Regions from separate parts of the Homo sapiens genome. Here region 1 is linked to region 2. The links are contacts of gene promoters, found by promoter capture Hi-C in blood cells and fetal thymus (Javierre and others, 2016). All regions are on one chromosome and are shown on one strand. The core of a region is centred on a gene start or on the middle of the fragment in contact, and the rest is flanking DNA. Distances in the headings are between cores, read along the strand shown. Region 1 overlaps ECHDC2 (enoyl-CoA hydratase domain containing 2). Region 2 holds the start of SLC1A7 (solute carrier family 1 member 7).

Region 1 (7,153 bases), core at 3,412-5,911, 240 kb before region 2:
TAAACCATGTTCCAAACTATTACCAGAGTCCAACCAGATAAGCAGAATTTGTAACCTTACTTCCTTCCATAGTCCTTAAACTGTACTGTATTTTTTCACACTCTTGCATGATTCCAAAAGGATATCTTCCTGACCTGGGTTCTAGTACCTCAGAGCATTGTTATCAGATGCTAGCTTATTCTAATGTGAGGATGTGTTAGGGGAACTAGTGTGTTAAGTCCAATTCTGTACAAGACATCCTTTCAAGTTCTGTGTCATTCACAACAATCCTCACGGGTAGGTGAGTTTTATTTTCCTCACTTAACAGATGAGAAAAAGGAAGTTCAGTAAGGTGGTTACTTTCCTGGGTTGTCATAGCTGGTGTGGTTTGTGCTGACTGTAAAGGCCTGGGCTCTCCTGTGTTATTCTTCCTTCCAGGATGCAAGCATAACCCTGGGAGCACATTTGTATTTTGCAGAAATCCGCAATGTTATTTATATTGTATCCATGCCCATGGTTTAGTGACTCTAGGCCAGGCTGAGGCTCAGCTTAGCCAGCGCTCAGATCCAGTTGGAGAATGACTGCAAAGGCATAGCTTAAGATGTAGCCTTGGTACCAGAGGAGGGAGGGGTATTGGGACCAGTATGGTTATGTATCAGCCTGCTCTTGGTTTTCTAAGTGTATCATCCTCTTCCTCACCTTTGCTCATGCTGTGTCAAGCTTCCTCTTCTGTACTTGAAATGTTCCTTAATCCTTCAGGCTTCAATTCCAATGTTAGTTGCCCATTTCCGGATCCTCCCTTCTTTCCATTAGAGTTAATTGCCCCTTTCTTCTCAGTGCTCCTAAATGCTATCAAAGAGTCTCCTGGAGGCTAGGTGTAGTGGCATACACCTGTAATCCCAGCACTTTGGGAGGCCCAGGCGGGCGGATTGCTTGAGCCCAATAGTTCAAGACCAGCCTGGGTGATATGGCGAAATCCTGTCTCTACAAAAAAATACAAAAATTAGCTGGGCATGGTGGCATTTGCCTGTAGTCCCAGCTACTCCAGAGGCTGAGGTGGGAGGATCACTTGAGCCTGGGAAGTGGAGGCTGCAGTGACCTGAGATGGCGCCACTGCACTCTAGCCTGGAGCCTGGGTGGCAGAGTGAGACCCTGTCTCAAAAAATAAAAAGAATTTTCTGCCACCCTGTAGTTTACAAAAGTGTTTCACAGTGATGATTTCGTTTGGTCCTCACGAAAACACTGTAAGTTAACAATTAAAACATATTTATTGAATATGAAGTGTTTTTATTTTGCTAAATCTTCACAAGTTTTGTTTTGTAGGTGAGGAAGCTGAGGCCCAGAGCATTTAAACAATTTGTCCACGGTTATACAGCAAGTAACTGGCAGAGACTGGGATCTGCAGTCTGACCCCTGACACATGTTCAACCGATGTCAGAGTTTATTTATTACCTCTGTTGTTCACAGGAAGAAACTAGGGGTATCTTAAAATCTTCTGACATCTCTAATGAGTGCCTGATAACTGAGAGAGGTCAGGGGCTGAGAGCCAATGATACCAAGACTCAGAGAGATCTAATTTAATTCTTTATCATTCAAGTAGAGAGACAGGCATTTTCCAAAGCAAACCCAACCCTCGTGATTATTTCTAGCCAGGGTGAAGCTAAGGAAGGTAGCAGTAGGTGGTAGGATCAGCACCTTGGTTCCAGGCATCACGCCAGTCATTTTATTTCCATCATCATCCTTGTGAAGAAATGGAAGTCTGGAGAGGTGAAATGATGAAGGCAATCTGGCCACAAATCTTCCTTCTGGATCCTGCTCTTCAGGGCATGCATCTCCCATGCTGAAGGTTAAAATGGGGGTCATTTGCCAACAAATTTGGGAGTCCGCTTCTCCCTGAAGGCTGCCATGCCCTCTAGCCGGTCCCGGGTTGGAATATTCTGCAACAAGGTACAAAATATTAGTTTTGGGGGAGCAGGGCCACAGGCCCAAAAAGAGTTGCTTAAGCTTGTCCAGCCCAAGACAAGGCCAGGGTCCAAGTGTTTCCATTGTCTCTGGACTCTGATCTTGAGGCATGCAAAGGTATAAGCCTCCGTGGCTGCTTTGTCTCCTGGGGAAGACAGGCCAGCCTTTGTATTCTCTGTGCCCCATCAGCATTAGCCTCCACTTGCACACTGCTTTCATGCCTCCTGAGAACTCAGCTGCCGTCTGCAGTGGTCTGACATGAGGCTGCTCAGTAGAGAAAAAAATTCTTTGCAGTAAGAAATCTGGCTTTGAATCCAGGTTCACACTAGTTTCTCCAAGTCCCAGGACCCCTTAGGAGTATTTTGGATATCTGTTAACGTGGAGATTAGCATTTTTTACTCACCCATGAGTAAGAGATTTAATAGGTCAGTCCCAAGTGTACAGCCCCTACATTGAACACAGCCTGCAGGCTACAACCAAGCCCTTGACCTCCCAACTCCATCCTGAACTTTACAGTGGCATCTGATACAGAGGCAAAAGATGTGGTTCTTCCTCTTAAGGACCTGTGTTCTGTGATTCTCGGCATTAAGTGGGCAGGATGAACCCCAGTACATTAGATGGTTGAGGGAAAAGTCCCAGAGAGAAGCACTATGGCTCTCCTCAAGCCACTCCAGGTGACTTATGAGGGACGATGGATGCGGTCAGACTGTTTGTGTTGAGAAGAACCTTCTAAAATTGGTCATGTACCATACAAAGTCCCTCTAGCCTGGCCCAGCCTATGTTAACAAGCAGGCATGGGCTGGTTGCTACATACCTGGGCATAGCACATCCCTTCAATGGCCATCCCAGATGCAATGTCCACCTGCAAGAAAGACGTGCTCCCTGGATTGGTCTGACCTTGTCCATCTTCACCCACACTGGAAGCCAGCCCACCCTATTGCCTACAGACATCTATATGAGCAGAGATAGCTATGAGAAGGAATTTCCCTCCTAGAGAAGAAACACCATTCGTAACTATGACAAAACTGCTGGGAGAAACGAGACAGACTGAGACATTTTGCCAGAGAAGAGGAGTTCTCCTTCCCATCCGGCTGCCTCACCACGCTTCCTGTCACCCGTTAATTTCTGAACCTTTATGACCTGGGCCCTGGCAATTGCTCCAGCCTCTAGGGCCCACTGACTGGCACTTGAAAGCCTCATTCTAAGAGAAGTACCATGTGTGTGTGAACTTAATTTTCACAGCAAGGGTTAGTATCCCTATTCTACAGCTGAGAAACCTGAGGCATAGAAAGGTGAAATAATTTGTCAAAGTTCACAACAGTATGTGGAAGAGCAGGTCTTTGAACCCAGACAGCCTAGTGCCTCGAACTTGCACTCTCTCTTCTTCCCTCACTCTCATCTGGACGAGCTGCTTGCTTATCCTCCTCTGTGCCTTTGCCCATACTTTTCCTCTGGAATTTTTATCCTTCCCACAGTCCAACTGTAGAAAACAGTCTTTAACCGAGCACTGCCCAGTATGGTAGCCACTAGCCGCATGTGAATGTCAAGCACGTGAACTGTGATTAGCGTGAAGGAGAAACTGAACATTTTATTTTATTTATTTATTTATTTATTTTGAGACGGAGTCTCGCTCTGTCGCCCAGGCTGGAGTGCAGTGGTGCGATCTCGGCTCACTGCAAACTCCGCCTCCTGGGTTCAAGCGATTCGCCTGCCTCAGCCTCCTGAGTAGCTGGGACTACAGGTGCCTGCCACCACGCCTGGCTAATTTTTTGTATTTTTAGTAGAGACGGGGTTTCACTGTGTTAGCCAGGATGGTCTCGATCTCCTGACCTCGTGATCGCCCGCCTCAGCCTCCCAAAGTGCTGGGACTACAGGCATGAGCCACCGCGCCTGACCACATTTTACTTTTAATTTAAAAGCCACACATGGATATCATAATGGACCGCAAAGCTCTAACCTTTCTGGGGTGTCAGCGTGGTACCATTATCCTTGATTTGTGTCTGTATCTGCCCCCTCCCGGGGGCAGTGACCATGTTTAACTCATCCATCTGTATCCCAGTTCCCAGCTTTGTTCTGGATTCAGTGTGTGATGAGTGACTAGATGGGAGAGTTGAGGTGGACAGATGGATTAACTAGATGGGAGAGTTGAGGTGGACAGATGGATTAGCCACACCCAAGGCATCACCCCAAGCCCTGCCCTGAGGCCACATTACTGCCAGCACAAATCTTGCAGCATGGACTGGCAGCCACACAGACCCGGGTTCTTTCTACTCACTTCCTCTGAGACCTTGGGCAAATCATTTACCCTTTCTTAACCTCAATCTCATCCTCTCTCCAAGGGAGAAAGATGAGGATAGAATGTAAACAATAATACTGTCTGGCCAATTTGCAGATGTGTAAACTGACGTAGAGCACGAGGTCAGAGTTCAAGTCTGTTAGAAGAGTCCACTTCCTGAGTTTTTCCCAGCTGTGCTGTCTGAGCTCTGAAAGCACTGTGTCCCAGCCGCGACCAACTTTAGTGGACCCAAGTCCCAACCCAAAACCCTCTCACCTCCGTTCCTCGGTCAATGGCTACTTTGCCCAGCCGCACGGCAATGGGGGCCTAGGGAAAAGCAAAAAGTCTTGGTTGAGGAGGGCATCAAGGCTGATAGTTGCAGGTCTGAGGTGCACAGCTTTGTTTTAAAGGAGGGAGGCAGATGTCTGGGTCTGGTTCCAGCCATTCTGCTGACAGTTTCTTTAGCGTTAGTCCTATAACCTGTTAGCTGAGGTTCTTTTTCTATCATGAAAGAAGCCAGACTCTGATCCCTGAACACCTGGGTTTCTTGTTATTCAGCCCATCCTTCCAACATGCACAACATAACTAGTTTACAAAGTGCTTTCCTCCCCCACAGACTCATCTAATGGTGCTACCCACACTTCTAGGCTGGTGTCATCACTGATGACCCAGCTGTGATTTTACAGCTGTGAGATTGCAGTGCAGGGAGGTGAAGCACTTGGCTGTGTTTATCCAATCATTGGTGAGACTTGGATTGGACTCCCAACCACCTTTCCCACTTCCTCGACCTCATTTCAGCAAATGCCAGCCTCTGCGGTAAGGTTTTACCCCAGCAGAGTGAAACAAAGTCAGGGTTAGGAACTTGGGCTTTCAAGTCGACAGGGCTGTGTTGAAATCCTGGTCTGTGGGGCAGTGCAGAGGGGCGGGTGCATTTTAATACAGCCACATAGAAGCAACAGTGTCTGCTTTGTCACTGGCCTTGGTTCCACACCAGCCCTAGCACTCCAGTCTCAGCCCCACTTCCAGGCAAGGAGGAATTACTTCCTATATCATATTATTTGAAGTGTTTATAAAACTTTCTCAGGAAAAGTCTCAAAAAAAAAAAAAACTGGGAAAAAGAATTGCAATGCTTATGACAGATGAATTTCCTTGATTTACAAAAAAGTTAGTATAAAGTAACTTTTAAACCATTTACAAAAGAGTATGTAAAAGGTCCACCGGAAAAGAAGTACGAACGTGAAGGATGTCCAGCAGCTGCTACACGCTTGAAAGGCAAATCAAAACAGTGAGGTACTGTGCCCTTTCACCTCAGACCAGCAAATACTAAAATATCAATATGCCTACTACTGCCGAGACTGGGGAAACCAGTATTTACATACATTATTGATAGAAAAGTAAAAGAGTATGCCACAGGAGAGCAATTTGGCAAAAACTGGCAAAATGCTGGTGTGCCTTTATAAAACAAAACCAAACCTTTGTTTTGTTTTATAAACGAAGGTTTATAAATGTTTTGTTATATAAAATGAAGGTTTTGTTTTATATTCTTCCATGTTTGAATTCCTTACTATGCATATTTAAATTTTGTTTTTAAAATTTGTTAGAAACAGATTAGCCTCGAAAGATATTTCTTGTCCTCTAAGCCATTAAAAGGAATTTATTTAAATATGTAAGCATATGTGCATAATACACGTCCTTCCATATGCAATGGAAATTTCTGGAAGAGTATGGAAACAATAGTGATGATCTGGGGAGAGAGAGGGATTGGGAAATGAAGGGCTGTTTGGGTTTGCTTGTGACTGAAGGGTTACTGGGATATGGGACTTCCACTTTTAAAACTGGGGTAGTCACAGGTAAACCAGGACTAGCTGGTCATCTTGCCTTTGATTTTTACCTTATGCCCTTCTTACTCCTCTGTTCTTTTAGATTTGCTTGCCATATGTGTTATTATTTAGGTAACTACCCAATAAAGGAAGTAATCTTGGCCAGGTGCAGTGGCTCACGCCTGTAATCACAGGGCTTTGAGAGGCTGAGGCAGGAGGATTGCTTGCCCAAAGAGTTTGAGACCAGCCTGGGCATCATCATGAGATCCCATCTCTACAAAAAATAAAAAATTAGCTGGGCGTGGTGACTTGCACCTGTAGTCTCAGCTACTCAGTAGTCTTAGGTGGAAGGATCACTTGGGCCTGAGAGGTCAATGCTCCAGTGAGCTGTGATCATGCCACTGCACTCCAGCCTGGGCAAAAGAGCCAGACCCTGTCTCAAAAATAAATAAATAAATAAATAAATAAATAAATAAAGTAACCTTTTATTAAAGTTAAAAACGGTATGTACGTATGTTTGTGAGTGAAAACAGCCAAATTCTAGCCAAGTCAGTAGCTTGCACCTGTAGTCCCAGCTATTCAGAGGCTGAGGTGGAAGGACTGCTCAGGCCCAGGGCTTCAAGGCTGTGGTGAGCTATGATCGTGCCACTGCACTCCAGCCTGGGCAACAGAGCAAGATCCTGTCTCTAAAAAGAAAAGAAAAAAAACACAGCTGAATCCATTTCTCAAAGTGTAATGTGTATTTACTATTTAAGAAGGAAATCTGATGCAAACTGTGGATATTGACAGTTTTTTTCTGGGCTGAGAAAACTCTGGAACCATTTGCTACCCTATCAGAGTGGTTTGTCCACTAGATGGTGGCCATCTACACCATCCCTGGCCCTCTCCTATCCGGAAACCTTTATTCTGAGCACCCAGTAACATAGGTGGAAGTTGAAGTTTTGTTTTTCAGGTTGACCCAGAAGGTCTCAACTCTGGGATTACTCATGCCAGTACTTGTTTTTGGTAGACTGGTGTTTTGGTATACAAAGCTACTTTTAAGTACTGAAAATATCAGTAATTATATAGTACCAATATTTTAGTATATTTGGAAATCTGAATTATTTTGTGATTGTTA
Region 2 (6,697 bases), core at 1,363-3,862:
TATGATTTTTGCCTGTTGCATAAGCTTACAAAACAAGAAGTGTTTAGTTTCTGAGTCACAGGCAAAGAGATCAAACAGAGAAATCCCAGATTTCAAAGTAAGATGCTGAGAAAGCCAGTTTCTGCCAAATAATTGTTCTAAGCCTCTACATCCTTCCTTCAATTTATCTGGCAGGTTAATCCAGACTGGAATACATTTGCATTTCCAAACAGATGGGAAAGGCAGCTTTGGCAAAGTAGGCCCCAGATGAGTTTGGCTTTTAATAATAGGCATTCCAATTTGTTTTCACAAAATAATCTTCCTGCAGGAGATATATTTTTGTTGCTGAGGAAAATTAAAGAGAACAGATTGCAGATTTTTTTGTTCCATTGCCAGTTTAATGCAGCAGATAGTTGAGCGTTCTCTCTGTGCCTGACACAGGGCTAGGCTCACGTTTTGGTTAAAAAAAAAAACAAACCCATATGTTGTTCAGCAATATGCAGCTTGGTGGGAGAAAGAGACACCCATATAACCAGCTCTGAAGCCAGGCAGCCAGCAGCGGGGTTACAGTTACTTTCATCAGCTATGGATGATGAGATGGTTCCTGATGTAGATAGGACTTTAACAGGTACATAAGGGAGGGAGGGGGAAGTAACACGTAGTAAGCACCTACTGTATGCTGGGCATTGATGAATCCTTGGTTTATTCCTCATAATAATTCTAGTAGACATATACTGCCCCACATCCCATTTTACAGACAAGGAAACTGAGGCCCAGGGAGGAGAGAGGATATTGCCTAGCCATTTGCTAGCAGAGTCAAAGTTCAGGGTTTCTCTGCCTCCAGAGTCCATGCTTCTTCCTAAATAACTGCTCGAGGCTTAACAGGGTCACTATAGTCGTGGCTCAGTTCTCCAGGAGTGGGTGTTTTCCTTTTAATGGAAGACAAAGTCTAATGCCTGACCCCAGTTGTAGAGATGGCATTAGACATTAGTGAGCTGCGGGAAGAGGACTTTCTGGGAATAGGGACTCTTCCAGGAGCCCATTGACAAAGCCTCTCTCCTTGACCACACTTTAGACAGGCTCCTCTGAGCCCTCTTTTCCACTGGGCTTTGTCCTTGGGCCTTGTCTTCAGCCTGCATAGTCCAGCTGTAGCAAAAGTCCTGCCAAGTCAGTTTAGTGAGGATCCCTCACCCTCCAGCATCCTGATACTGGATCAAATTCCTCATCCCAGATCAATGTCTGATCACCCTGGCCTGCCTTCAACAAGAATCCCCCTACCCTGATGTCTCCTGTAGTCATTTTCTGTCCCCGACCCCCTCCCTCTGCTCGCTGGCTATAAATCTCCAGCCATCTTTGTTGTATTTGTGGTTGGGTCCCATCTCTCTCCCCAGGAGGTCTTGATAACTACCCCCCTACCACAATAGTCCTGAATAGAGCCTTCCTTACCAGTTTAACTAGTGGCAGAATGATTTTGTCCTTAACACCATGGGAATGTCCCTCCCTCTCCTGTAGGAGATGGGGGCTGACAGGGAAAGGGGCTCTTTCCCAGGAAACGCAGCTTCTTCATGGCAGTTACACAGGCTGGAAACCCGGGGCCTGGCTCCCCTTCCTGTCCCCCAGCCCACATCCAATCGGCCCCCACATCCTGAAGCTCCCCCTTTTGAAAACAGTTCTCACGTCTGTCCCTTTTGTCTGCACTGCCGCATCTCCCCCAGGCTGCCCCTTCTCGGCCCCCTGCCTGCCCCAGAATCACCCCCTCTCCACTCAGCACCTGAGGGGTCTCCCAAGCTCCAAACTGGCCTGTCGCTCTTCTGCCCAAAAGCATCTCATGGTTGCCGCAAGCCCACGTGTGGCGATGGGACCTATGGGCCTGCTGGCCTCTGCGCTCCGGCCGCTGCACCTGGCATCTGCTGTCACCTCTGCCTAGAGCACGCTTCCTGGATCTCTTGTCATTTGAGCAGCCTTTAGGAGGTGTTCTCTGGTGCCTGTTTGAACTCACACAAGACCCCCCTCTTTCCCCGCCACAGCTCTTGGCCCTGTGTTTGTCATCATGAGGCACCCTCGCCTCTCCTCACCTGATGGTGCTGGGTTTGTAATCACTCCCCAGCCACATCACTGGTTCTTCCCTCTAGTCCTGCAAAGTGTTTATCACACCCATGTTACAGATGAGAAAACCAGGACCCAGAGAGGCAGAGGGATTCACACACTGTCATGGCACCAGGGAGCTGTGATGCTAGAACGGGACCCCAGATCCCTCAGGCCCACACGCCCCTCCTGGACAGGGGTCCCGAGATGCTCTGGGTGGCTGACCTGTGGTGAGAGGCGCCGGGTCCTCAAGAAGAAGCCGAGGAGGCAGCCCACGATGACAGACAGCACAGACAGGATGAGGAGTCCATTCCGCCTGCACACGTCCCTCCCCCGTGCCAAGATGGCATGCGGCACCATGGTGAGCCTGGCCTGCTGGCAAGGGGCACAGCACCATTCCACGCATGAGAGCCCGGCCGGGGGCACAGGGTCTGGGCTGAGGGCTCTAGCCCCTCAGCAGGCAGGTGGTCGGAGTTGCTAAACACCAGTCGCCAGCCCCACGGCCATGCCCGTGTGGCCGCCTTAGAGGGAAGCCACAATCCTATTACCAGCTGCATCATTAGGAGCTGGGAGCAGATTAGGGCCTGGGAAATTAGAGCAGACCACGTGGTCTAGGAGTTCAGGCCTCAAAGCCAAGCGTTCCTCTTAAACAGTTGAGTGGACCAGGTACTGGAAGGAACAAGAGGAACATTTGCTTGGTTGGTTTGATCTTTACCCCTGCTTCCTTCCAGAAAGAATCAAAAACAAGACAGTAAGATATCAGTTTCCCTCAACATTAATTAAGCATTTACTATGCACCAGGTGCCATTCTAGAAGAGTGTTACATGTACTGGCATATTTAATCCTAACACCAATCCCAAGAAATAAGTACTATTAATATCACCATTTTACAGATAAAGAAACTGAGGTGGGTGGGTGCATGTGCTGCGGGCCAGGCCTGTGCTGGCTGCCTTAGCTATGCCAATCATAGGGAATTGTCCCAAAGATCCCAGGGTTCCCACCTTCATTTTTCAGAAAGGGAGGCTGAGACCCCAGAAGCCAGTCCCTTGGCCATGGTCACAGAGGTCAGAAGTCAGGGCTAGGCCAGTCTGTTTCCACCACATGAACAGGCAGATAGGTTCAAGGGTGCTTGGCAGTATTGTGGGGAATGTAGATTCGAGTCCAGGGGACCTGAGTTCAAAGGTGGGCTGTGCCACTCACCGGGAAATGGGACGTAGATGCTTCAGGGCTGTTTCAAGCCTGGTGCTGGGCACCCTGCAGGCTCTCTGGGCCTATTATTTTTTAAAGATGACAGAGCCCAAGAGACCCACATTCGGGTCCCAGCTCTGCCACTTACTAGCTGTGTGACCTCAGACAAGCATTTCATCTCACTGTGCCTCAGTTTCTCCATCTGTAAAATAGAGATGATAACAGCATCTACTTTGTTAGGGCTGGTACAAAATTCCACCCAGAGGGTATTTGGAAACGCAGTGTGAACCCTGGTGTGCTGAACAGGGGAACGGACTCTTAGGGTCATTATCACACTTAGTGCTTTGGAGAATAGGTGTCTTTTTGCTATTTCTTGTGGCCTGGCCTGCCCTGCCCTGTAAAGCCTGGGGGAATTAACCCTCGTCTATTTCACCAGAGATCTGTAATCTCATTAGGAGCAGTCAGGCAGCAGGCAGCAGGGAATGGGAAGTGCAGTCTGCAGTGAGGGTGGGAGGTAAAGGGTGGGGTGCACACAGGGGCTTCCTCCTCCTGACATAGGAGACAGGGGCAGAGGATGAAGAGGACGGGCCAAGTGGGGCATAGGGGAGAGGTGGGGAGAGGGGACTGGGGCACAGGCTCTGAAGCCATGGACAGAGCTCCTGACTGAGAAGATTCTGATCCCAATTTAATCAGCTCTGTGACCTTGCCGTCTCTGGGTATCAGTCTTGTCCTTTTTAGAATGAGAGAAATGGGCCCAGGTACCTTTGTCAAAGGAACTTCATTTCAACAAACCAATCTTCCAAAGCCCCTGCTCTTTGCAGTAGCTTGGGGTGGGGGGTGGGGGTGAATACAAGTCTGAGAGTTTTTTTTCCTCTGACTTTGACTCTTAAAACCAAAAGTTTCTTGCTACACCTTCAACTCCAACAAATGCCTCATTTTCCAAATAATCAGGTGGTTAGTTACTTCCCAGAAGAGAAAATATGCTAAGTAGGTATTTGGATTTGGGTTTTGATCAACTCCTGGGCTCAAACAATCCTCCCATCTTGGCCTCCTAACGTGTTGGGACTGCAGGCATGAGCCACCACACCCAGCCCAGACCTGGCCTTTAGCTGTGCCATGATATAGGTGAGTCTTGCTTTCTACCACAGCTCCATGACTCCCATTCCCAGGACGTGCCCTATAGCCACCACTGACTCCTCTCTCCCACAGGCTGAGCCTACCACTACCTGCCTACCAGACTACAGCCATTCTTTCCACTGTTCCTACGGTCTTCAACAGGAGAATTTCAACTCACTCTAGCAAATGTTCTTATAGCACCATTTAGTGTGCCACACCCCCTGGGTACTAGAAACACAACAGTGAATCAGACAGTACCTGCCCTGCCTTCAGGAAGCTTATAAGAAAGTGGAGAGACCCCAAGAACGGACTAATTCACACTAAAGTGTAAGTGACTGATAATGAGTTTACTAAGAATATTTGCAAATCAAATCAAGTCTCCTGGGTCAGAACCCTATAATAGTTCACCATTGACAAAGAATCAACTGCCTTTTACAATGTCACTAGATGTGCAAGACAATTTTTCCATAATTACATCAAAAGGAAGTTTGGGAAATGCTGGACGAAACAAAAAGTTAAGCACGTTATTTCCTCTGAGACAGCTCAAAGTCAGACTGCTAGAGTTAAAACCTCAGCTCTACCTTCAACCAGCTGTGTGACCTTGGGAACATTTCTTAACTTCCCTGTAAAATGGGGATAATGCAACAGTACCTAGATCATAGGGTTTTGATGTGGGTCATACAGTGCTGCATGCGCCATGGTTAGAGCGTGGCCCAGTGCCTTGCAGATAGCCCCAGGTAGTTACTATGAAAGTCTTTACAGTAGCGGCTGTGTCGGAGGAAGTCACCAAGTGGAGAATAGAGAATCCCACCCCTCCTCTGGAGCAGAGAACTCCCTGGGCCTGGTGTTTGGAGAACACGCCTGGGAAACCCCGGTCTGCAGCATCGAGTCTATGCTCCCCTGCAAGGCACTTTCACCCTTTTCCTCACCCTTTCAGCATTACCTCCTACTCCTTCCGTCACCCCTCCAGCTCCTATGACACCAAACCACTGCAGGGTCCTGGAACGCTGCATCCTGTCTCAGGCTTCTGCACCTTTGCCTGTGCTATTTCCTTGGCCTAGAATGTCCTTCCTTGTCACGAAAGTTACAGGTTAAATCCCCCTCTTCTTCGAAGCCTTCCCTGATTACCCTAGATACAATACCTTCTCTTTTTCTCACTCTAACTCAGGCCCTTCACAGTCACCAGCTGGGGATTCACCTAGCTCCCTTTTAAGTGGCTCTGACAAGGAAATAAGAATCTATGAAAATAAAATCAAATCTCTGTTTGTTACCATGTCATTTGAAATCACCTCAATGGAGAATCCTCAAAGTTGGAGGGTATATTGGCAGGGGCAGCGGGGTGCTAGGGATAGCCTGAGGAGCAAGGTGTTGTATAATGGGCAGCAGGCGGCCTCAGAGATGCTTCTGGGGAGGCTTGAGCTGGACAGACTGAGATGCTATGGCAAAGAAGAGACATGGTGTTGGCGAAAATGAACGCCAAGTCACAGGTGCAGCTGCCTCACCCTGCAGAAGCAGGTGTGCAGTTGAGCTGTTCTTCACCGGGCCCTCTGCTTGGGTTATGCTGTGGGGAGAGCAGCAGGGGTTGACTTATTTGCTAATGATTAATGATTAATGATTCGCCAGGGCTACAGGCAGGGCCAACCCAGCCTGGGAAGGCGGGGATAGGAAGGCTTCCCAGAGGAGACGTGGTTTAGGCAGAGGCCTCAATAAGCCAGGGAAGGGGGTGCTGGTCAAGGGAGAGGGGAGACGACAGTCTGATTTAGGCCGGAGGCGTGACAGCAGGGCCTCCCAGGGCTAGCAGTGCATCGGTGGGCTGCAGTGGCCATCGGGGCTGGGGCCTTACACCTTCCACCATGTGTCAAAATGAGTTTAGGTCTGGCCGGGTGAGCTCCCATCTGGGTCTGTCGTGACGACAGCTCGGGGTATGTTGGCTGCTTTCCAGAGACATACCAGAGGCGCCTTAATCTCCCTGACACGTCTTCCCAGCTCGCTGGAAGCTGGGCCCTTCCGGGAAGGTTTTCTGTGGGCAACAAATGCAGCTGATCCAGCTGGGTGTGGATTCCTGCGAGCTTTAGTCACCGAGGGGCTGTCCTGACCTCGCTGAGGGCTAGTCCTTTCCCACATTTGCCTCAGAGGATGGGAGAAAGTGACTCTGTGGTGGCAACTCAGACACACGCCTTCCTTTTTCCCTTCCAGTCCCCCGTCTAAATCTGTCACTTAATGGAAATGAGGCCTGGGCGCCCATAAGCCCCTGAGCCGCTCTGTGTTGAGCACCGACTGTGTACCAGGCTCTGGCTGGGTACTCTGACACCTTCACCTAGAAGGGCCC

What was found. Contacts are between HindIII fragments. The CHiCAGO score rates a contact against its expected background, and 5 or more counts as called.
Region 1: a fragment that was not itself captured here is called in contact with the fragment with the promoter of SLC1A7 in region 2 in 1 of 17 cell types (endothelial precursors); the score reaches 5.2 in endothelial precursors.

What each region holds. Positions count from the first base shown.
Region 1 is chr1:52,894,682-52,901,834 of GRCh38, forward strand. ECHDC2 (enoyl-CoA hydratase domain containing 2) reads right to left here. Exons shown (of 10, transcript NM_001198961.2): 8 at 4,493-4,543; 9 at 2,756-2,803; 10 at 1,229-1,916. The coding sequence ends at 1,839. ZYG11A (zyg-11 family member A, cell cycle regulator) reads left to right here. Exons shown (of 14, transcript NM_001004339.3): 14 at 1-317. Among named protein-coding and RNA genes, the nearest start is that of ECHDC2, 23 kb to the right of the region's middle. The HindIII fragment of the contact is 5,360 bases long and covers 1,982-7,153 here.
Region 2 is chr1:53,140,026-53,146,722 of GRCh38, forward strand. It overlaps SLC1A7 (solute carrier family 1 member 7), which reads right to left and starts at 2,613. Exons shown (of 11, transcript NM_006671.6): 1 at 2,290-2,613. The coding sequence starts at 2,424. The HindIII fragment of the contact is 4,621 bases long and covers 23-4,643 here.